7 separate regions of the Homo sapiens genome follow, and all the other regions are linked to region 4. Evidence: promoter capture Hi-C in human tissues and cell types (Jung and others, 2019). All regions are on one chromosome and are shown on one strand. Each heading gives the region's core, a stretch centred on a gene start or on the middle of the fragment in contact. The rest is flanking DNA. Distances are from core to core; before and after follow the strand shown. Region 1 overlaps KIF16B (kinesin family member 16B). Region 2 overlaps MACROD2 (mono-ADP ribosylhydrolase 2). Region 3 overlaps MACROD2 (mono-ADP ribosylhydrolase 2). Region 4 holds the start of FLRT3 (fibronectin leucine rich transmembrane protein 3). Region 5 overlaps MACROD2 (mono-ADP ribosylhydrolase 2). Region 6 overlaps MACROD2 (mono-ADP ribosylhydrolase 2). Region 7 overlaps MACROD2 (mono-ADP ribosylhydrolase 2).

Region 1 (3,095 bases), core at 80-2,579, 2.0 Mb before region 4:
AAGTCAGGATTTGAGCCTGATAACTCTTAGAAGAAAATTGGGCTGTGTCAGTTCACCGGGAATCAGAAAGAGAAAAATCAACTTATAGATGAAAATTTCACTCTGAGATCATTAAGAAATATTACAGTATCAGCAGAGAGAATGCTGACTATATTTCTAATATGCATACATATACATATAGCTAGCTAACTTGCTAGATGGATGATACTCAACGCTTTCATAATTCCCAACCCTGGGATTCACGAATAATTATAAAATAATTTATATTATAAAATAGCTTATAAGATTTAAGTAAATACTAATTGTCTTAGCTTACTCTTTTGAAAATTCTTCATATAGATCTATTTTTCAACCAAAAATGTAGAGGCTTGGTGGTTGAACATCCAAAATAAAGCTAATTACTTGGGTTTTTAGACTTCACAAGCACTGAAGAAGGGAAAGACAAATTTCATTGGAAATCGGTAGGCCTCAAATTATTGATTTCATTTTTTAGTGACTTAGTCTTGCTTTGGCTGTGTGGGCTCTTTTTTGGTTCCATAGGAATTTTGTCTTTTGTCTTTTGAATATATTTTATTCACCGAATTGCAAAACAAGCTTGCCATTATGCTTTTCTTAGGCCTAAGAAATATGCTATTGTAATCCTCATTTGTTTGTTTCCTGTGTTTTACTCTACATAACCAAATTTCATAATGAGACAAAGTAGGCCATAGGGCTGTTGTTAAGCTCTCCTTCAGCATTCTCTAGGCCTATCATATCTGTCACAAATATCCAATTTATTTGACCTCAGTCATCATTTTTAACTTTAATACACAGTTTTCCCATAAGAGCTCAAATATCTTTGCATCATTTCCCACTCCTGCTGTAAGGATAATAGCTATAACAGGAAAAGATGCCATTTTAAGGGTTTTCTCATGAATACTGCATTTCTGTTTGTGTCTGTCCTTTTTCTGTTCTACAACCTCTTGAAAAAATAATATGTTTCATTATTATATCAGGCCCCATTTTCCTTCTGCACATCTGAGCCTTACTTCAAATGAGAATACTGTGAAGATTTCATAGGAAGTAAGATACCTTCCTCAAAAGCAGTATAGCCAAGATAATAGGTAAAATATCTCCATGGTATCTAAAGTGTTACTTCTAACGCTGTGTAGGGAGATTTTAATCATCAGCATCTGAGTTATAGAATTTCAGAACTGAAATGAAACTTAAACATCTTGGTTCAATTTCTTCATTTTCACGATGATGAAACTAGGAACTAGAGAAGTTTTTATACATTGCTCCAGATTATACAACCAGCTATTTGCTAAGCTGAGACTTGAAATCCAGTTGCCCCAAATCTTAGGTTATTAAAAGAAAAAGACATATGGTGTTAATTTAACTCTTCCATTAAATTTGTAAAAAGAATAATCACTTTTTACTGTTTCTATAAAAATGATGCATGTTCATTTATAAAAATTTTACATAATACAAGGAAATATAAGAAAAAAAGGAACAGATTATCCCAAAATGATTCTATAAATATGATTAATGTTACCATTTAATGAACATTATTTTAAGTATCTAAATGAATAGGCACAGATAAGAGGATGGAGATGTAGATTGACAAAAAAGAAATTAAAATCGAAGAATAGGGAAAAGAGTGAAATAACTTTACGACATTGTGTTTATTCTAGATATGGTATTTTTAAGTATAAACATTACATTTAATTTTACTTGAACAGAAGTGAAAGAAAATGAAAACTGAAGAAATTGCTGAACTTCAAATTAAATTTTCTTCACCACATGATATATTGTCTCTAAAATATATGTGACTCTAAGATTATTTTTTAAATTGAAATGTTAAGGTCACTAGTTTTCAAATGATGTGTTTCCATTTTATAAATTACTAAGTGACTCTTCTAACAGAGATAAAATTAACTTTATTTTCTCCCACCTCCCAAATTTTTTAAGTTATATTCTGAGATCTTTACATTGTGCTATCTTGTGGTTGGATATTTTTGGTCATTCAGTATGTTTTTGAAAGATGCACCTTGATGTGTTTTATCTGAGTTCTTATCTGCTTCAGAATGTGTATTTGTGGCACTTGAAAGACCCTTTGGTTAGATATAAACTTTTTGGGTCACATTTCTTTTATCACATTTTATTTTGTGTTGTTATTTTCTCCGCTCTGTGTGCTGCGTGCTAATCTGTTTTTATTGTGCTTGTTCTGCACTTGTTCCTTCTACTGGGGCTTTCATTCCCATCGTGTTTTTGTTTCTTCCACCTCTTTCTTAAGTCCTGCTGGCTCACATTTTTTTGTGGAAGGAAGGAGGGTGCAGAGGCACTGATTTTTTTAAAGTTTTTTTTTTCATTTTAGAATAGCTTTAGACTGTGTTTTTGCCTTTTAATTTGCCTTGTAATATTTTGTTGAAAGCTAGACACTATATATTGGGTAAAAGGAATTGAGGTAGATTGATTTTTAGTGCGAGGTTTTATGTTTATCTGGCTAAGATATAGGCTAGGTTTATTGGTTGATGTCGATGTGGTGTCAGAGGCTAAAATTTCCTGTAGTGCCCTTGTTTTTGTCTTCCATTGTTGTCTTTGGGCTTTCCTGGAGTCTTTTAAAATAGGGTCTGAGGCTTACAGTTATTTCAGCTGTAATCCCTGTTACACAGCAGCCCCATGATGTGATGGTAAGGTATGGTGAGAGGAAGCCTTCTATAGTCCTAGGGTAGTTTGCAGTCTTTTCATGAGCCTGCGTTGAGTGTTTCATTTAGCCCTGGTCGGTTAGGCTCTGGCAAAACCTAAGGTAGTTAGGTTCTGGTAAAACACTTTCTCTTAAGAGCGAGCCTTGTGAAGGAGAACAGAGAGCTCTGGGAATATTTAAAAATGGTTACTTTTTCCTTCCCCTGCTCAATCCCCTAATGTCACAGTGAGAACACATCATTTGAAAACTAGAATCCAACTTCACAGTGAGAACCTGGTGGGGCTCCTGGAAGTAAAACGCTCAAAAGCGTGGAGACCTTCCTCAAGACTGGCCCCCCTCAGAGATTTTAACAATCACACTAGTCTATATTTGAGCCTCCAGAGATTCTGGAATTACTGTTCATAGTGTT
Region 2 (3,051 bases), core at 261-2,760, 1.6 Mb before region 4:
AAGGATCCAATAAAATAATTAAAACTAAAGCATGTTTATCTATTTGATCATTGAATATAAAAACCTCAAGCTGTTTTTGATTATTTTCTTCCATCACTCCTGACGTTTAATGAAATGCCATCTTTATGGTTCTGCAAAATATTTCGGTTTTCCCACTTTCTAGTCTCCTGCCTTCTTTCCTCATTTAGGGATATATCATCTGTCTCTTGGATCTTTCATTTTCTTCTCCTATATTCTATTTTGTGATTTGATAGCAGAAAGGCCTTTTAAAATTTGAACTTGATCAAGACCTTTCCACTTTTGAAAAAACCCATTCATCCTCATTCTTCCCCATTGCCACTCAAAGTTGTAAGGTTAGCTGAGAGAAAGAACGAGAGAGAGAGAGAGAGAGAGAGAGAGAGAGAGACCCAAGGTCAGGCGAGTAAGTTTATTAGCCTGCTGGGCTGCTCCACCACAGTCAGCGGAGGCAGCCCTGAACTTACAAAATGAGGGGTTTATATGGTGGAGAGAGACCCTGGGGTTCTTTGTCGGTTAACTTTACCACATATCATCTCGTGACCAGCTTACAATATAGGAATTTACAAGAGGGTGTAACTTAGGTTTATCCACGTTTCTCATGACCTCCCCCATGCCACCCGGAGGGCTGTAAGCAAGTCTGGCGACCTTGCTGTAGTGCCTAGATAAGGGTCCAGGAATGCAGCTGCAGAATATTCGGAGTAAGGGTCAGCTGCATTGTTTTTGGGGAGGGGGGTGGTCCTGGGGCAGCTTGTCCCTAACAAAAGTATGGTCCATGGACAAGCAACACTGGAATTACCTGGGAGCTTTTCAAAAATGCAGAATTTCAGGCCTCATCACAGACCTACAGAATCAGAGCCTGCATTGTATAACAAGATGTCCATGTGATTTGCATGCAAGTTAAACCTTGAGAAGCACTGGCCTAGAAGATGTAAGTGAATCTGCAAATTATTGATCCCATAAAAATGCCAGACTGTCCCTAGATACTTCACACGTAATCTCTAATCATCACATTACCTCTGGAAAGTAAGTGCTGTGATCTCAGTTCTGCTTTCAAGAATCATAACCAGCTCTACCTGACTACAATCCCTCTTTTCTTTTTGTTTTGCCTGGAAATGTCTTTATTTTGCTTTTTAGCTTTTAAAATTGAGATCTACTTGCATATAGTAAAATGTACAAACCTTAAGTGTATATCTTTATGACTCTTTAGATATATACACATGAATTTTCCTAATTACCATCCAGATCCTGATCACACCGTGATGTAGTTGTGTCTGTCTTTGTCTCTCTTACCAGATTAAGAGAGAAATTTTGTTTTATTCATATTTTCCTGCCCAGCACCCATTTAATAAGAAGTCATCAATCAATGTCTATTTAATTGGACCTGTATTAGAGTACTCATCAAGGTCTGTAAATAGTTATTAAGGACTATAACTTACTTTCTCTTGCATCCTTTAACAACAAGGTAAAGTCTTGTATGCTACTAAGCACTCCACACATTATATTTGTTGCAGAGAACCCTGGAATGGGAATAAAGATAACTGGATGTTTTAGGCAAATCACAACCTCTTTGACCTTTAATTTCATCATCTATTGAAAAGAAAAAAGGCTGTGGAACGAGATAATCTCCTAGGTTCATAGCTATGTCTTCAGATGAAGTTTCCAGTCACATTGACGTTTGTTTATTGGGTGGATGATACTGAGAGGGAACCTTCACTGTTTGTTTACTGAGTGAGCTTCATTCTCTATCACTGTTGCTATAGGGAACTGGCCATTGAACCTAATCATCGCACCAGGTCATTGCAAGGACCTTTAACGTACTATTTGTGATCTGGCTTCGTCTATATCATGAAGGGAAAGAGTAGAGCATCCAGAGAGGGGAAAAGGCCAAAATCTGTATTCCTGTGTGTCCCCTGGTCCCAGTGCTCCACTTGATAAATTTTCAGAGGAATTCAATCAAGAATGAGCAGGTCCCCATTTAATAGAGCCTGGGGCACTGCTGAAAAGGTGGGCCTGCTTGAGGTGGCAACCTGAGTCTGTTGATGAACACCAGGGAGTTTCTGTGACTTGTAAGGCTTGACCCTTCACTTTGAGGATAAAGTGCTATTTCAAATATCTCTTGGAATATTTCTCTTCCTTGCCCTCTAAACCTGTCTCTACTCTTGATCTGTTTCACCTGTGTGCTTTACATATTTTGACAATCTTTTCTTGAAATAGAATTTTTTTTCTCATTTTTCTTAAATAAAGTTAATTAAAAATGGGGGAAGAAACAAAACAAGGTGTCCAGCTTTGAAAACGAGGCAGGCTTTGGCGTATTGCACAAAGACAAGGTATGCCTGACTGCCTTGCACCGCACCCAGGCCTGCTGTGTGTTAATGACTCCTCCCAGGGCTTCCAGCCCATCTGCCTTTCTCCTCAGTGCATGCAGACCTTTCACATTCCATCCTGCTTTCTTGGCCCCATGGGGGCAAGCTTTATGTTTCCCTCTTCACATTCGGACTAGTTGAATTCTCCCCACTGTCCTCTGCCCTAATCCCTCCTGGCTGAGGAAACAAAAGAACACAAAGAATTCCACAGTTTATGTATATATTTTTCATACAGTGAACTCAATCAGCCATACTTATGGGAGGGGACCATTAGAACAGATAATCCAAAAATCCATTCGCTTTTCTTTAGAAATAGATCACATGATTGTTTCTTGGAGCCTTGGTAATTAAGTTTGGCTCAAGCTAATGCTTTAGCTTTAATTAATTTGCATAAAAATTGGTCTGGGGACATCAGTCTAGAATGAAGCATTTCTAGGGGATAAACCTGAACTCACTTTGTAAATGGACTGTTTCTGAACAATAGCAACAACAATATAATTTTATTGCTTGCAGATTATTAGATGCTCAAGTTTTCTTAAGAACAAAGACTGTTTCTTTGATGCTTGTGTTGAAGAAATCATGTAAATTGTGTCTTTTTGTTAAACTTGAAAGTTGATTGCTGCTAATATTCAAAACTGTACTTTTATAAAAATTTCTAAAAATATCCCAG
Region 3 (3,383 bases), core at 51-2,550, 1.5 Mb before region 4:
AGTCTCATGGCAGTGCCAAGAGCAGAAAGTGAAAATGCACAAGGTCTTACGAGGCCCAGCCTTGGAACTAACTTAGCCTCACTTCCGTCACCTTTCAGTAAGCCGACAGAAGTCACAGAGCCAAGGAAAAAGTCAAGGAATCGGGATGTACTCTTTTCTCACAATGAGACCATGGCAAGGATATAGGCATACAGAGCCACTGAGAACGGGGGCCAATGGTTCGGTTCATCATGTGATGAAAGAGACGAACTTGGGCAATCTTGTCCATAGTCCTTGCTCACAAGTGTAATGCTATATTTCCTCTCAAGGGATGCTTCTGTTTCTTCTCTTCATGAAGAGATATATTGTAAGGAGCCTTTTTTGAGAAATGATGGATAAAAAATTAGGCTTTCACTAACATTTGAGATTTAAGCTGAAATAGGAATTCTACATGTAGAATGAGGCAAATATTACCAATAAACATAACAGGAAATAATTTGGGCAAAAGACAGTGCATATGTCTATATCTATAGTCATATCCATATATAAGCACACAGTTTACATATGCATACACATGTATGAGTTGAGTACCCAAAGCCGTCCTCCAAACTGTCTGGGCTTTCCATTGTACCTCTTATACTAACTGACTTCTGGGAAATCATTCTTATTTTTATAAATGCTTTTATCAAATGAAACCAGACTACAAGCTTACAGTTGCATTAGTCCATTTTATTGATGTATTTATTTAAAAGGTTCAGTCTGTCTTATATCAGAACAACTTTGAATGCAAAAAATGATGCTTATCACTTTTATTTTCCTATGCTGCTTTTGTGCGTGTGGGATCCAAAAACTCATCAAAATCTAGCTGTGCTCTACCGGATTTTATCTCACAGTCATTGTGATGTAGCAACACTGGTCAATCTCTTCTCAACAGAGCACAATTGCCATAGAAATAGCTAAGGGGATGAAATACAATTGCTGAAGAATAATGAAGTGAAATGAACCCCCAAAGCTATCTTTCCAATATAAATCACAAAGTTAAGTTGCAGTGATCTGAAAACAGAATTTAAGGATGTGTGCAATCCAGAAAAAGCTAATTGATGCTTAATTTTTGCATCACATCTGGTAAGGATGTAATTAAGGGCTCCACAAGATGGAAACATTAAACATTTTGCATAGAAAGATAAGAAATGAGAATATCACTATTAGGATAAAAGCAACTTCCTTCTCTTCCCTGGTAATGTGAAATAATTTCTCCTACACTGAAGAGCATTGGGAGCTTCTGAGTTTATTGTTTACTTTGTTCCTTATTAGAGAGGAAATCCAAGTGTTACTAAATTAAAAGGAAAGAATGGAATGTACCACAGCCCCATAGTAAAAAAAAAGCTTGATATTCTAGGTCAAAAGCTGCCCAATCTTGACAAGAAAATTAACCTGAGTAGATCTCTGGAGTATTGAATATAATACGGTATATGAGTTTTTCTCAAAATTTTTAGTCCCATAGATTTATGACACTGGGGTAAGGTGATAGTTCCTACTTAGTGCTACAAAAACTCAAGTGCCAACAATCTGAAAAGTTCGCTGGCTGATGATTTTAGGATATCTGATTATTTTCAATTGATGATGGGCTAAGCAGTTGATGATGGGCTAAGAGTATCACAAAAGTTGCATGAGATTCAAATTACAAAAAGACTAAACAGGAGGTTAGGACCAACAACCACAGGATAAGCATCAGCTTCTTTCGTACATCATCAGAGATAGACCACAGCTTTTGTAACCAAGAGGAACCTAAGGTGTCTGTGGTCAGAAGCAGCTCAGAGGCCAATATATATGTTAATAAAATTGTTTTGTTAATAATATGGGGCAAATCAAGTTTCCAGAAACTCTTGAGTTTCTGGAGGTAGAAATGAAAGGCTGCACTTTGGTGACCTGAGGAGGAAAATGTGTAGAATGCGGCAAGTTGGAAAAAAACAGATTGATGGGGCTAGTGATCAAAAAAACAGACAAGCACCTGAACATGATACAGTGTCTGCTACTGAGGACACAGTAGAGCCCTCGAGGGGTTCTTGTGAGGACAAGAGAGGCTCATGTTGGAGGTAGATACGAGTCTGTAGTGTTGCAGACAGTTAGCTAAGGAGAAAGTTGAGAGACCAGTTCATTCCCACACGGAGAAAAGGGGTCCCATTCAATAAGATTTTCTGTGTCTCACTCCACAGAATTTCTCTCTCTTTTAAAAGATCCGATTACCCAAGCAAGTTCCACAGAGCAAATCTTAGTGCATATTATACTTTTGAAAAGGCATTTATGGTTAAACAATATTAAGAAACACTGCATGTTTAACTTTGTTTAAAGGTTAAAAAGGGGGCTTCCTTTAATATCTTTTTTTTCGTCTACTATCCTTCATGGTACAGCCCTGTCCATCAAAACCTATTTTCTTGGCAACCTAGAGAGAAGCCTGCAGACCAAGTACATATGTGTGCTGGTGCACACAGCTCATATTTTTGCAAAGAAAAAAATGTTATCCTTATTGAACTCCAGCTAAGTCCCTTTAATGCTCTGATTCAAGAAGACATCCAAAGGCCCATTCCTTGTGGTTTCCATTTAGCAAGGCAAACCTTATAGGCACAATCTTTGTAATACACAACTGGACTTTCTACAAAGAAATAGCTGTGGTCTACTTGCTAAGCTTCTGCCCAATTAGACCCATATTGCTTCCTTGAAAACTCTTGAGGTTTACCACAATTTGGTATTGCTATTCTTACTGCGCAGCTCATGGAGGTTGATGCCAGATCATGTTAAAGTGGTAAGTCCACCAGCCACTCACACATCAGAGCTATTACGGATAGTCAATCCCTTTCAATACATCATTTATGCTTTGAAAGCAATTTGTAAAATGAATAAAAGCAGCTCTGTGAATTATAATAAAATTACAGAAATTATTTTAAAATTGAGCTGCGTATTCAGGTAAATGAATGCTTTTTCTTGTCAACCACATGAAACTAAACCAACATCAGTAGATATATTTTGTTATATATCTGGAGAGAATTGTATTTCTCTCTAAAAAGATTATGCCTTCATTGTGAATAAAGGAAAAAACATCCCATAGATAATGACTCTTATGACTCCATTCTGTGTAACTGACCACCAATTGGTTGTAATGAGATTGCTTCTGCAGAAGATAAAGGTTTTAAGGAAGGAGTGTGTGTGTCAGTCATAAGGGGTTTGTTGCCACAAATACTTTCCAACTTTCATTCCATGGCCAATCTGATTCACATCTGCATCAAATCCATTTACCCTCTCCTAAGTAGAAAATGGAAACAGTTCTGTAATCTCCAGAGTACTATCAAAAGGTAAAACGTCACTATTATTAGATACTCAGCCTGAGTTTGAGAAAGGCAAAAGAC
Region 4 (3,087 bases), core at 146-2,645:
AAGGTCATGCACCTCTAAGAATAGAGCAAATAAAGATATTAGTTTAAGACAACGGTCCTCCAGGTAAATATAAAAGCTAAGTTCTTACCACCAACATGAACAAGTGAAATACACTTATTTGATGGAAAACTTACGGGCACAAAGCAATTGTTGACCAAATAGCAGAAACCAGTCTACAAAAATCATAATTAAAAATACAAGTATAATTCTGTTAATTAGGCATAGAAATTTATAATCTCCACGTCTTACAATTGTCCAGTGTTTATTCATGTACCTAAATTAAACTAAAATAATTTCAATCCAGGCAAACCACCCTGAAAGATTTTTTTCTTAAGATGTTTATATCTAAACCCATGCTCAGATCAGCAAAAACATTTAGAAAGGAAAATATTCTATTAAATTTTTTAAAAACATTTTATTGGGGGATCGTTAAATATAAATAATCCATTTTAAATAATATAAACACGTAGCAGAAGTACATAAAACATACTTTCATTTTCTAAAACATAGAGAACAGTAACTTCTTCGCCTCCAAAAGAACAGACCATTTAATACCATTTAAAAAAATCTTTTGGCATTCCTATTGCCCTTCCCATAACTAAATGAATCAGTGACACGTGTATATATATACATATATTGGAGATGGAGTTTCGTTCTTGTTGCCCAGGCTGGAGTGCAATGGTGCAATCTTGGCTCACTGCAACCTCTGCCTCCCGGGTTCAAGTGATTCTCCTGCCTCAGCCTCCCAAACAGCTGGGATTACGGGCGCCCAGCTAATTTTTTCTACATGTTGGTCAGGCTGGTCTCGAACTCCTGACCTCAGGTGATCCTCCCACCTCGGCCTCCCAAAGTGCCGGAATTAGAGGCGTGAGCCACCACACCCAGCCCTGATGTATATATTTGAATCTGCTGTTTATTCATATGTTGAATAAACATTCACAGTTGGGATTACTGGCATACATCTTCCACAATTATAACATTATTTTAGCTAGTGAATAATAAAACTAATTTGATTTTGGTTAACTTCTTTTCAATACAGATGGTTTAAAAATAAGACAAAGCCTGTCTTTTTCTATTGTGATCTTAAAAATATCTTTCTAACATGCTTTTTAAAAAAAATACATAAGTATGCTACCACTGCCTTGTAGTAAACTTTAGAAAATGTTGAGATTCCAAAGGGCTGCCTACAAACCAAATGGCATCCTAGCTTTGGCAGGCTGATGCTTCATTTTGGCTGCTCTCGCCCCCTCTAGCGTTTGCAAAGCTCATCTGTCTGATTATCCAGTTACCTCACTGAACAAGATCTTGGCTAAGTCCTGCCCATCTATGACATCACCCCCTTCTTCAGCCACTGCGAGGTGAAGCTTTAAACTTCAGACTTGGAGGTGGGCTGTGTGCAGTAAACTGGAATGCTCTCCCTCGCTCACTCCTCAGTGTAGGAGTGATCTGAAGCAGGACAAGCTCAGCCTGCAGCTGCCGTGGGCTTTGTGTGGACTGGACGCAGAGCTTGGGAGACGGGGGAGGGCTATTACTCCAATTCACTGTCAATGGAATTACAGCTATAGCGGCAGTGTATATAGGATTGCTTTTTCTCGTCTTCCTGGTAAGTGTTTTCCATGTTTTTTCTTATGATTGTCCCAGAAAGTTTGCTTGGTTTTACTCTCTAGAAAGAAACGACTTGATACTATGAGAAATCCAAATAGGAACGTTTGCTCTGTCACCACAACAAGCAATATATGTGCGTGCAAGCCAGCAATGAAAAATTTCACTATCATGGCTGAATGTAAGAAGTTTCTTAGAACCTTCTTTCATTTATAAAAGATAGTAAGTGGCTATTTTCTGTCTTGAGTAATTGCTATGTGAAAAGAGCCTTATGGAAAACAGCAAGTTGGAAAGTTCAATGTTAAATATTAAAGAATACAAGGAGATTCTTCACAGATAGGAAAGCAACTTGGTGTGTACTGTACGTGTGGGATGATCACCAATTGCTGTTTTTACAACTGTGAAAGAAAATCAATAATCCCTCAGCCCATGAGTACGCAGTACATGAAAAGCATACATCTTGCTCACAGCTAGCCGAGCTACTCCTGGAGACTTATGTGCCTCTGTAAAGGATTAACAGCTACACCTAGATTTTAAAGCTTGCACTGCTATCGTGCCTGAGCTGCTTCAAGCATTTCAGGCTTGCAAATCTCAACTAGTAAATTGAACTCAGAGGAGGGGGAGACACTCTTCCAAACCATATTCCCTCTTCAATAGAACACCAAAATCCATTGCTTAGGCAAGTGAAGTATGTGACTAGCATAGTAAATGGCTAAGTCTACTCAGAAAAACTAACAAAGCTCACCCTGGAAGCTATGCCTGATGTATGCAGTGAGTTTGGGGTAGCAGGAAAGAAAAATAAATGAGTAGAGCCCTTATCAAGTGGGTTTTGCAGAGGATCCATTCTTTGCAACTTATAATAGGAAAATCTTATATTGGAAGAAATGCATTTATACTACAAAGCTTGAAAAAGTAGTTAAATGTATCTTCTCAAAAAATTTTGTTCACTGAATTAGGTCTGAAACAAAATGGTTGCATATAGGTAAAGAGTGCAACAGGCCCATCCATGTCTTCTCAACATCTGGGGGGTTTGTTTTTATTATTTTATTTAGAATTTAAAAGAAAAAAAATTGATTTTTTTTTCAATTTTTAGTCCAAAATCTCTAATGGTTTTAATAATAAGGCTATTTTAAACATTCTTAATAAATCTGTCTATTAATAAATCTGTCTAAAATGCTCATCTATGTTATTTTATTATCCAGAAACAACATAAATAAAGCCACTAGAAAAGTCCTTCAGCTGTAGCAATGCCTTTCATTTATCTCTGACTGCATAAAAATATCCTGACCAGCCTAAACATAAAGAATAAATTTGCTTATATTCAGGGAGAATCACTTATACCTGACCCAAAGTGACAGATGACTAATATTCATCTCTTCCGAAATGAGTAAAGAAAAATTAATCCTTTAAAAGTGCCACAATCAATAATATCAACATTACCAACTACTACAAATATTAATGATAATATGCCAGGTTTTACCATGG
Region 5 (3,401 bases), core at 671-3,170, 1.6 Mb before region 4:
GGAAGGGAAGAAATAAGAGAGATAAAGAAAACCAAACCACCACCGCAAAGGTGCATTTTAATGGGCAGACACTGTTGCTGAGTAAGAAATAAAAGAAAGGTAAGAGTCCAGAAAGGAAAAAGAGAAGCATAAAGAAAGACTGTAGTTGAAATGAGACTGCCTGACTTGGAGACTACATCACAGAAGGTGATATGGATTCCAACTAGAAGAGACTAGTCATGGTCCCAGCAGGAAGCAGGACACATTCAAAGGGGTGTAAAAAGTTTAATATGGGATATTTTAAAAGATGTGGGCAGAGTCAAGGGAATCAATCAAGGAAAGTAAAGATGTCTAAGACTAGCAGTGGATGGGAGCTGTTACCACCCATAGGCCTGAGAAGAGAAAGGGAGTGGTCACCTGAAACCAAGCAATAGCTGGAGGTGGAGAAGGCCACCCGCAAGTGCTGTGTCCTTGGGTGAAGTCATTTCTGTCTGGCAGCAAGGGTCAAAGAGAATAAATGTCTTTTTGTCCTTAGTACTTTTCCCCCCATTCTCCAATCTCCCTTAAATGACTTCCACTGGTCTAGCGCATGCCTTCTCAATGGGAAGCAAACATTTGTTCTTGGCAGGGCAAAAAGGAAAAAAACAAAAAACACAGCAAAAAACTCTTAGCTATTATAATGGTCTGTACCCTCCAAAAGATACAGTTCATAAATAGATATGCAATATATTTATGGTATTAAAATTTCATGGTCAGGTGGAGACAATTAGAAAAAGAATGTCTAAAAAAGCCTCCTTAGGGAGTGTAGTCATGAAAATAAAATTGAGAAATATTAGTTAACCAACCCAAAGCTTGAGGGTGAGGGAGTCCAGTCAATGCAGCCCCTTAGGTCTCAGGCAAAAAGCAGTCTAGAGAATGTTCTAGAGAGACAAACAGAGGCAACTGAGCACACAGCCCTTTTTAAAATTCTTCCTGACCTCTACTCTTTAGATCTCTGTATCTATGCACAGGAACAGATGGCAGTTATGATGGCTAATTCAGGGAAATCATCCATCTAGCGGAACCACCAATGAGAAGAATTAGCAAAATGACTGTCCACACTCACGGCACACCGTGTCATCAGCGTAGAAATGTGACCTTTGTCTCATGTGTATTTTAACACTTACAATAAAAAGAGAACAAAAAAAGGTGCATAAACAATTCAAGGGCATGCCTACATATGTAATATTAACCCTTTGCTAATTAGTTGATTTGGTGTTATATAATGGACAAGCAAAATTTGACAACAGGATTGAGTTAACACTTTTAGAAACCCTAAACACCAAACAGATTTCCATGCTCTCCCCATCCTCATTGGGCTGTACTCTGCCAAACTTAACCAAAGTTGGACAATTTGATCTCTTGGCCACAGCTATAATGGAAGGTCTATAAGAAAACCATTCTGGCAATTGGATGAATTCATCAGGAAGATGTGATTGACTGATCTTGTGAGCTGGTTCCCCACATTGAACCATCAAGATAATCTGATCGTTCTGTTTTAAATAACATATCTCAAATTGTGATCCACACACTTAATACTCAGATCTAGTTTCCAAATACGCTTCTCTACTAAAAGAAACCAAACCTCCTTGAAGAATTGGTGGGTACCAAGGCTAAGGCGTTATTACAACCCATTGAATAGAATGGGAAATGATGAGTCCACGAGGATATAAATAAGTACACAAATGAATAAATTGAAAGTTTAATGAGGAATGGGCCATTTACCTAGTTTCATTGTGCCTTCCCACAAGGGGTACTCATCAATTACAAACAGAGGAAAAAGCAGCTGTGTAGTTGAGGAGCCTCTGAGACACCACCTTAATCAAGTAATCAAAGCGAGTGAATATTGTCAATAATGGGACAAATTGAGATAATGGGCCCTTCATAGCCTGCCATGAGAAGAACACAGTATCACTTCTGTGATAGTTCTTCAAAGATGCATCACTTGAATCCAGCCATGAGAAAACATCAGACCAATCCAAATTGGAAACATTCGAGTAGATAACTGACCTGCAATCTTCAAAAGTGTCAAGGGCAGTAAAGTCAAATTAAGATTGGGAAACTGTTCCAGACTGGAGGAGAATAAAGAGATGTGGCAGCAAAATGAGAAATTTGAGTTTGAAAGCGTTTTTTTTTTTTGTTACAAGGAGCATCATTGGAAAACTGGTGAAACTTAAATGAGATCTGAAAATTAGATAGTAGTGATATATCCATATTCATGTTCTAATTTTGATCTTTTTATTGTGCTCATGCAGGATGAATGCCCAATTTGTAGAAAATGCTCAGTTAAATGTTTGGGGATAGAAACAGTAGATTGGCAACTTATTCCCAAATGGTTCAGGAAAAAAAGGTTATTTTTACTGTACTTGCAAATTTGCTGTAAGTTTGAGATTGTTTAAAATAAGAAACAAAGGCAAAAGAAATGGTGCTCCAAAGATGCATTGCATCTAGTTAGCATGCAGCTTTCTGATTTGGTGAAGGGTTGGGCTAGGTGCAGGAATCTGCGTTTTTGGATACACCATAAGTGGCTGAATGAGAGGTTCTCCCAAGGGTGGCAGTTTGCAACTGTTCACTAAGCACTCAGCAAAAACATTCCACTTTCGCTCCACATTCTACAGCCAGTCTCCCCTTCCCTCTGCCCCTTTCCTCTCAAACCCCATATCTACTTTCCTTCTGCCAGCAGCAAAGATTGTTAGAAGCCAGTGGGGAATTCTCAGGATGGAGAATTGAGAAATGATTCAAGTGGTTCTGCTAGCATTTTCTGTCTACGGAGAATACAGTACCCTGGGTTTCTGCATGTCATTCCTCAGGCATGGTGATCCCTGGAGATGAAATCATTTCCTAAGACTGTCTCTGATGGCTCCAGAGTGACAAGAGGTAGGAGAGAACAGGCACACTTGAGCAAGGCATTAGGAGAGTGTGGCGTGAATCCAGGAAATTCTAGTGTAGGTGGACAGTTTTAAGGCTCTCTCTGGTATAGCAGGAAAGCACAACTTTGTTACATTAGAAAACTGAAATTTTGAAATACAACTACAAAATCGTAACATGAAAATTCAACACTGTTCAAATAGCAATACCTCTCCTTAACGACAAAATAAACCCTTTCTCTGTTGAAAAATTAGTACCTAATATTATAAGTCCTCAAATGTCCTATTGGCATGGTGTCAACATTGAAAACAATCACTCTAATGCTTTAGTTCTATAAACCCGGGGACTGAGTTTTCAACAAAACAAAGGCAAACACATCTGACTGATGCATTCTTCATCCTTGGTTTAGGAAATCAAAATAGACAAATTGTTAAACACATAGTCTAAATTACTCACAGACATCTATAACATTTAAAGAAAGGTACCTTTAAAGTTACTATAAAAAGATCCACTGT
Region 6 (3,094 bases), core at 1-2,500, 1.5 Mb before region 4:
GAGGCATCTAACAGTGTCATATGAACACCAGCTGTCGCACACAGGTCTGGAGTTCCATTTTATTTTAGACTACATTAAAAAAAAAAAGAACTATTGTTTTGCCATTTAAAAACTCTGTTAAAATATGCCACAGAGTTTCAGCCTTGGGGCATATAACAAAACGAAAACCCACTGGGTTCTTTATCCTTTAAGCTTTAAGGCACTTTAGAGAGGTGTCCATAAAATAAGTTATGTGCATTTTACCTAACTCAGGCGAGCTCTCACCGTGCTGCACTTTGAGTGATAAAAATCTTCCTCTCTCATATTCACATTTTTAAAGAAATGAGTCACTGCATTCTCAGTTTCCATGTCCAGCACTTGAAGCCAAATCCTTTTCATTTGAAAGGGATGAGGCATCCAGAGTGACTGATTTTGCAAGTTGGCCTCTATGATAAATTATTCCCAGATGCTAAGATGGATAAAGTACCCCCTCTGCCCTGAAATACCTGTGTAAGCAGGTGGATTTCAACCAGATGGTTGCAAACACTACATATTCTGCCATTCTTCTGGACATAATTAAAAGTTGAATAAAGACCTTTCCACTGCCAAAGGCATAATCATCACACTTCATCTGATAAAACATTTAGTAAGCACAGACTGTGTGCCAGAACTGTGCTGTAGCAAAAGCTTTGCACTGGTGGAATTAGTCTACACTCAGAAAATATTTATGAAACACCTGTGATGGATATTGAAGAAAGCAGGGAGAATGCATAACCCAGGTAAGTGCAGTATCATGAAAAAGTTTGTACAGGTCTTAATAATAGAAGCCATTACAATTCTAATGAATGGAGTCCAAGGACAAACTGTTATGAACAGAAATAGTAGTTATCTTATTTGTGTTCCACCAGGGGCATAGTGTTAAGACTAGGATATAAGTTCAAATGGTTTATTTAGGAGGTGATCCCAGGGAGCATGGAAAGAGTGGTGAAGTAACACAGAGAGGCAAAGCAATCAATAATGGGTGAATTATTAAGCCAGCTACTACAATGGGTCACTGGAGCTTACTGCTACAGAGAAGCTCTGAGATGTGGTGTATAAGAGAAAGCTTAGAATTATGGCAGCCAAGAGGAGGGGAGCTGGGGTATTGATACACTAGAGAATCACTGATTGAGGGAAAGGTTTTAAGGGATGTTAATTTCTTGTCACTGGCAGCCTGCCATGTGCAGAGTAGTCTTCTGCTGACCAGGAAGGTTTCCACTATAATGGAAAAGAACCCCTGCAACAGAGTTGCAGATACTGGAAGCTAAAAATTGTGTGGAGCATAGTAAAGTGTTAAGGTCCAATGTGAACAGGGCACGGGCAACATCTCCTGCAGTGATGTTATTTTACCCTCATATATTTTCTTTTTTTCTGTCCTTCCTCTCTTCTTCTCTTCCTATTTCTACTTCTCTCCTCAATTAACTTGGTTAAGGGTATCAGAGCAAAGGGGTCTTACCTCTTTTCTAATTGTTATTTTTCCCTTGAGAAAATTATTTACTTGACAATATTACTTTACAATATATTTCCAAAAACAACATGAACATGGAAAAACAAAAACTTTTAATAAAAGCAATGGTAGGTAAACCATGCTGTTTTATGTAATAGTGAACTCCGTGGGCTAGTTTCTTCCCTATGTACACATGTATCACACTGTCTCTATTAAAACATCTGAAGTTCAAGATATTGTGTTGTTGTTGTTTTGAGACGGGGATCTCTCCCTCTGTCTCCCAGGCTGAAGTGCAGTGGCCCAGTCACTGCTCACTGAAGCCTTGAACTCCTGGGCTCAAGTGATCCTCCTACCTCAGCCTCCTGGGTAGCTGGGATCACAAGCATGTGCCACCATGCCTGGCTAATTTTTAATATTTTTTATAGAGACAAGATCTCACTATGTTTCCCATGCTGGTCTTGAACTCATGAGCTCAAGTGATCCTCTTGCCTCAGGCTCCCAAAATGCTATGATTATAAGTGTGAGCCACTGCATCCAGCCAGGATATTTTAATATTCAAGGTGTGACAATATATTTAATTCTATTCAGCTGGCATCTAACAAGAAACAAAACTTTCCTGAGTCCCTGCTTCCCTAGCTCAAAAGTTTCTCATAGGAAATCAATTGACTTGTAGACTTAACATGTCTCTACAGGGCTGCCTTGTTTTGCCTTTTATATGAGCATTCATCATTTTAGAAAAGTGAGCTTAAGAAGTAGCAAGACGTGTAAGCAACAGAATTTCAGATGAAGTCATGGTTACATAAAAAATTTAGAAATGTCCAATGGTTTTGAGTTGCTGAGTTAGAATTCAAGTTGGGTTTCTATAAATTTGCTTTAGCTTGTGCTTTTTTTGGGGAGGGGTTGGTGCATGCTAATGATTAAAGGAATATGTTCTACACTGAAATAAAGACATAGGGAATTAATAAAATATATAGGAAAAATATAGCTTTCCATAATAAGGGGGGAATCAGCCCTATAAAAGAAGTCTTTGAGATATTTCTGGGGTACCTGAACCTGTTAGTTCACATTCCAAGTGAGCATATCAAACATCACTATGATTAATATGTCATTTCTCTATTGTATTCACATTTCTCTGTCATAATAATCAGAACCAGATCTAGGCCTGTTTGTTTCAGTCTGTTGTAAAAAATGTGGCTCTAGAAAATTATTTATGAAGTGGTGTAAAATCAAGGCACCATTTGTCCTTCTAACGTTGAAGAGACAAAAGCAAACAACTTAAGTTAGCTCTGTACTAAAATTCTGATCACTGAGACTTGGTTTCTACTTACCTACTCAAACAAATGCAATTGAATACCTAGCTAAAATTGTGTCTAATGAAGACTAATCTGTGGAAAATGAACAGGCATTTCAGAATTGATAATTCTTGCAAGGATGCAGACTTTTGAGACGAGTGTATTTTTTTTTTTTTTAAATCCAATATACCAAGAACTGGATTCCCTTTTCCTGTTTCAACTCAAGGGGGAGAAATATCTTATCCACATCTCTGAAAGCTCCCTTCCGGGCCTTCTTTATTGTCAGTATGGTATTCTTCCATAGTCAAAAGCTGTGGAGCATGTCAGTTTATTGTGC
Region 7 (3,541 bases), core at 786-3,285, 1.5 Mb before region 4:
AAACTGAGGCAGGAGAATTACTTGAGCCCAGGAGTTCAAGACAAACCTGGGCAACATGGTGAGACCATGTTTCTAAAGAACAAACAAACAAATAAAATTAGCTGGGCATGGTGGAGTGTGCCTGTAGTCTCAGCCACCCAGGAAGTTGAAACAGGAGGATCCCTTGAGCCCCAGAAGTTCGAGGCTGCAGTGAGTTATGATCAGTATGATTGCGTTACTGCGCTCCAGTCTAGATGACAGAGTACGACCCTGACTCTGAAAAACAAATTTAAAAAATAGTAGTTGGTAGTTTTTTCAGTCATAGGTGATTTCATTGTGAATGAATCAGTTACTATGCAGATAATGATAAGGGGTTGAAGGTATCTAAAATTAAAACATATTTTGTGAGCTCACAAGGTAAGTTTATCAACCAATGGTCACCAAACTAATGAAAAAAAAAAAAAAAGAAAAGTATTAGCCCAAGAAGCAATGAAACTTGCTTAAGGTATATAAAGAAAATAATTAGTGAATTTGTTCTTCATTGCTCTGTATACTAGCCTTTAGTTCCACACTTTTATTAGATATATAAAACCTATGTAATGATCATATTTTCTGAGATTATTACTCTAGATTCATGGGCAGTAATAGATAAATGATACCAGGAGTGGGGTGGTGGCAGGAGGACCTGGAGAGTAGGGGTTGGGTGGCAGGTGTATGTGGTTAACAAAGGTCAAGATATAGAAATCTGTGGGTACAGAGTGAACAGAGAGGGTGCAAAACCAGAAGTCTGGACTAGGAGGGTCATGAATCCAGGAAGCCAGAGACCAGGCTGAGGGTACATGTTCCAAATCCAGCTAGATAGTTACTTATGGGTAAAGCATCAGCAGTCGAAACACTGTAAAATAACCCCAATCCAAAGGCAAAGACTGCGGCAATGGCCTGAGTGGTAAGAGACAGTACCAGCAGATGGAGCCTCTCAACCTCTGCACTATTGCCATTTAAGGCTGAATAATTATCTGCTGGAGGGTTGTGGAGGGTGCTGTACTGTGCACTGTAGAATGCTTAGCAGCACCCCTGGCCTCTAATCACTAGAGCACAGTAACCTCTCCCATCCCTCAGCTGTGAAAAACAAAAATGCCTCAGAATGTCCCCAGGAGGGCAAAATCGCTCGTAGTTGAGAACCATTGCAGTAAACAAAGGTTGGTTTTTCCTAAAGGGAGGAGTGAAGGAGGGTTTACCATGACAAGTCTTAAGCTTCCAACGTCAAGATTCTTTAATACCGTTATAAACCGTATGTTCTTTATTGTTATTACGGGGAAAATTAATATCCTTCAGTTCTCTAGCAGGACTAAGACTCTAGTAGAAAAAAAAGAAAAAATGACTTCCACATTCCAGATCGGGAATTGTCTTTTCTTTTCTTTTTTTAATTTTTTACGTCTAGTGAAAACTGCACACAATAAATTCTACACACTGAAAAAATACAAGCACTTTTATGTAAAGAACAAAGAGATTTCTGAGTTGAATCATACAAATATTATTTGCTGTAGGCCATGTAATGGTGCACTGTAACTATAAATTATTTGCAACCAAAGTGTATGATAATTCCATAAAGCTGCCACACTCTACTTTCAAATAATACTTGTGGAAGGAAAAAGTCAAATGTGCTTTACCCCACAGCAAGATATAAAACTGTTGAAAAAAAATTCGATGCTGGTTTCTTTCCCTGGAGTTTCTTAAAGCATTTCTACAAGGGGCAATTTTATGGGCTTAATTGTGCCCTGTGAATTTTTATGTTGAAGGCCTAACCCTCATATCTTAGAATATGACTGTATTTGGAGATAGGATCTTTAAGAGCTAATTAAATTAAAATAAGGTAATTAGAGTGGGTCCAAATCCCATTTGACTGGTATCCTTATACAAAGAGAAAGATACAGCACAAATGACTCAGAGGGAAGGTCATTTGAAAGTACAGGGAGAAGACAGCCAACTACAAGCCAAGGAGCGAGGCCTCTGAAGAAATTAATCTTGCCTCCACTTGGCCTTGGGCTTCTAGCCTCCAGAATAATCAGAAAATGTATTTCTGTGGTTTAAGCCGCCTGCTCTGTGGTACTTTGTTTTTAGAGGCCTGACAAACTAATATAAGCCATTTTCCATCTTGTCCTGTAGATGCTATAAAGGCCTTTGGGCTTCTCGTTTACCACTTACCTGCTCATCTGCAGGTAATAGCACCACAATACCTCTATAATGTGAATGGAATTCAATTTTGAGATGAATGATAAAAGTACTAATTCAACTCATATTAGAAGTTTCCATGAAGGTATTTATAGGTACTAGAAGAAGAGAAGCATGGCATCTCTGAAAAATGATGGGCAGCAGATGAAATGGGACTTTCCCCAATACTCCAAATGCAGCCTGGAAGTTGATCTCAGCCTTCTCTAAAGATGCTCTGAGAAAACGAACCTATTATCACTTGGGCAATGACAGATGCCAATCTCAATTTTAAAATACAGCTCTGTTGCTTCCTAGCTGAATCCTCGTTTTTCATGCCTAAAACATAGGGTATCATAAATTTGTTTCATATAGTTGCTGCCTTGGCATCCATTTTTTTTTCTTTTTTTCCTTTTGGTTTTAAAATCTCTACAATATTTATTTATTTATTTATTTATATTTTTTAGAGATGGGGTCTTGCTTCGTCACCCAGGCTGGAGTTCAGTGGTGCAATCATAGCCAACTGCAGCCTCAAATCCCCGAGCTCAAGTGATTCTCCCACTTCAGCCTCCTGAGTAGCTGGGACTGTAGGTATGTATGCACCACCACTCTCAGCTAATTTTTATTTATTTATTTTTTGTAGAGCCAAGTTCTTGCTATGTTGCCCAGGCTAGCCTGAAACTCCTGGATTCAAGCAATCCTCCTTCTACAGGCATGAGCCACTGTGCCTGGCCAGCCTCCATTCTTAGGCCTGACATAAGTTGTTTGAAACCCAGTTGTATCCTGTCACCTTTGGCCTACTTAAACTTCCCTCCCTGTGTGATCAGTTGTGATATGTTCCACTTGTTCCTCATCCAGCTGACCCCAAACCCAATATACTCCACAACTGCTGATCATGGTAAAAATCTAATAGTGTCAGAATCATCGAAGTAAGTTCCTGCTTCCTGAGTGTTTTCTTTAAACTAGCCAATCCACAACCCCCATGGGAAAGCCTAAGGGGTGGTGCATACAGAACTAATAAAGACAGCCCCCAGGTGCTTGCTCTCTCTTGCTGCCCACTTGCTGGCTGGGCTCCCTGCCACCTCCAGGCTTCCTGTTGGTCTCCTGTGGGCATCCCTCACCTGTCTGGGACTTGTGAGTAATAAATGCCTTCTGTTTTGTGCATTTTGGTTTTACTTCCTCGCTGTGTCTCCCCTGACATACATATCTGAACCCAATTTTCCCCCAACCCTTTTCAAAGCTTTCCTGGAGAGTGACTATCCTGGCTGATGGCCATTCTCAAGAGAGAGAAACCTTAAGACCAAATTAGAAAAAACCCTAACAATGGAACCACAGCACAGGGTTAATACGGTGC

Evidence for each region. Contacts are between HindIII fragments. The study calls those that stand out against the background at their distance.
Region 1: a contact is called between a fragment that was not itself captured here and the fragment with the promoter of FLRT3 in region 4, in 1 of the 25 tissues and cell types used here (dorsolateral prefrontal cortex).
Region 2: a fragment that was not itself captured here is called in contact with the fragment with the promoter of FLRT3 in region 4 in 1 of the 25 tissues and cell types used here (dorsolateral prefrontal cortex).
Region 3: a contact is called between a fragment that was not itself captured here and the fragment with the promoter of FLRT3 in region 4, in 1 of the 25 tissues and cell types used here (dorsolateral prefrontal cortex).
Region 5: a fragment that was not itself captured here is called in contact with the fragment with the promoter of FLRT3 in region 4 in 1 of the 25 tissues and cell types used here (dorsolateral prefrontal cortex).
Region 6: a contact is called between a fragment that was not itself captured here and the fragment with the promoter of FLRT3 in region 4, in 2 of the 25 tissues and cell types used here (dorsolateral prefrontal cortex and lymphoblastoid cells).
Region 7: a fragment that was not itself captured here is called in contact with the fragment with the promoter of FLRT3 in region 4 in 1 of the 25 tissues and cell types used here (dorsolateral prefrontal cortex).

Annotation. Positions count from the first base shown.
Region 1 is chr20:16,319,620-16,322,714 of GRCh38, reverse strand. All of the region lies in intron 24 of KIF16B (kinesin family member 16B), which reads left to right. Among named protein-coding and RNA genes, the nearest start is that of KIF16B, 250 kb to the left of the region's middle. RefSeq lists a silencer at 1-151. The HindIII fragment of the contact is 5,671 bases long and covers 1-3,095 here.
Region 2 is chr20:15,975,938-15,978,988 of GRCh38, reverse strand. The region is part of intron 13 of MACROD2 (mono-ADP ribosylhydrolase 2); the gene reads right to left. The region is part of intron 1 of LOC613266 (a long non-coding RNA gene); the gene reads left to right. Among named protein-coding and RNA genes, the nearest start is that of KIF16B, 600 kb to the left of the region's middle. The HindIII fragment of the contact is 4,742 bases long and covers 1-3,051 here.
Region 3 is chr20:15,836,129-15,839,511 of GRCh38, reverse strand. All of the region lies in intron 8 of MACROD2 (mono-ADP ribosylhydrolase 2), which reads right to left. Among named protein-coding and RNA genes, the nearest start is that of KIF16B, 740 kb to the left of the region's middle. The HindIII fragment of the contact is 3,866 bases long and covers 1-3,233 here.
Region 4 is chr20:14,335,920-14,339,006 of GRCh38, reverse strand. It overlaps FLRT3 (fibronectin leucine rich transmembrane protein 3), which reads left to right and starts at 1,395. Exons shown (of 3, transcript NM_198391.3): 1 at 1,395-1,603. The region is part of intron 3 of MACROD2 (mono-ADP ribosylhydrolase 2); the gene reads right to left. The HindIII fragment of the contact is 3,050 bases long and covers 1-2,323 here.
Region 5 is chr20:15,905,354-15,908,754 of GRCh38, reverse strand. All of the region lies in intron 10 of MACROD2 (mono-ADP ribosylhydrolase 2), which reads right to left. The region is part of intron 1 of LOC613266 (a long non-coding RNA gene); the gene reads left to right. Among named protein-coding and RNA genes, the nearest start is that of KIF16B, 670 kb to the left of the region's middle. The HindIII fragment of the contact is 3,267 bases long and covers 287-3,401 here.
Region 6 is chr20:15,812,407-15,815,500 of GRCh38, reverse strand. The region is part of intron 8 of MACROD2 (mono-ADP ribosylhydrolase 2); the gene reads right to left. Among named protein-coding and RNA genes, the nearest start is that of KIF16B, 760 kb to the left of the region's middle. The HindIII fragment of the contact is 4,299 bases long and covers 1-3,094 here.
Region 7 is chr20:15,865,508-15,869,048 of GRCh38, reverse strand. All of the region lies in intron 9 of MACROD2 (mono-ADP ribosylhydrolase 2), which reads right to left. Among named protein-coding and RNA genes, the nearest start is that of KIF16B, 710 kb to the left of the region's middle. The HindIII fragment of the contact is 6,134 bases long and covers 1-3,541 here.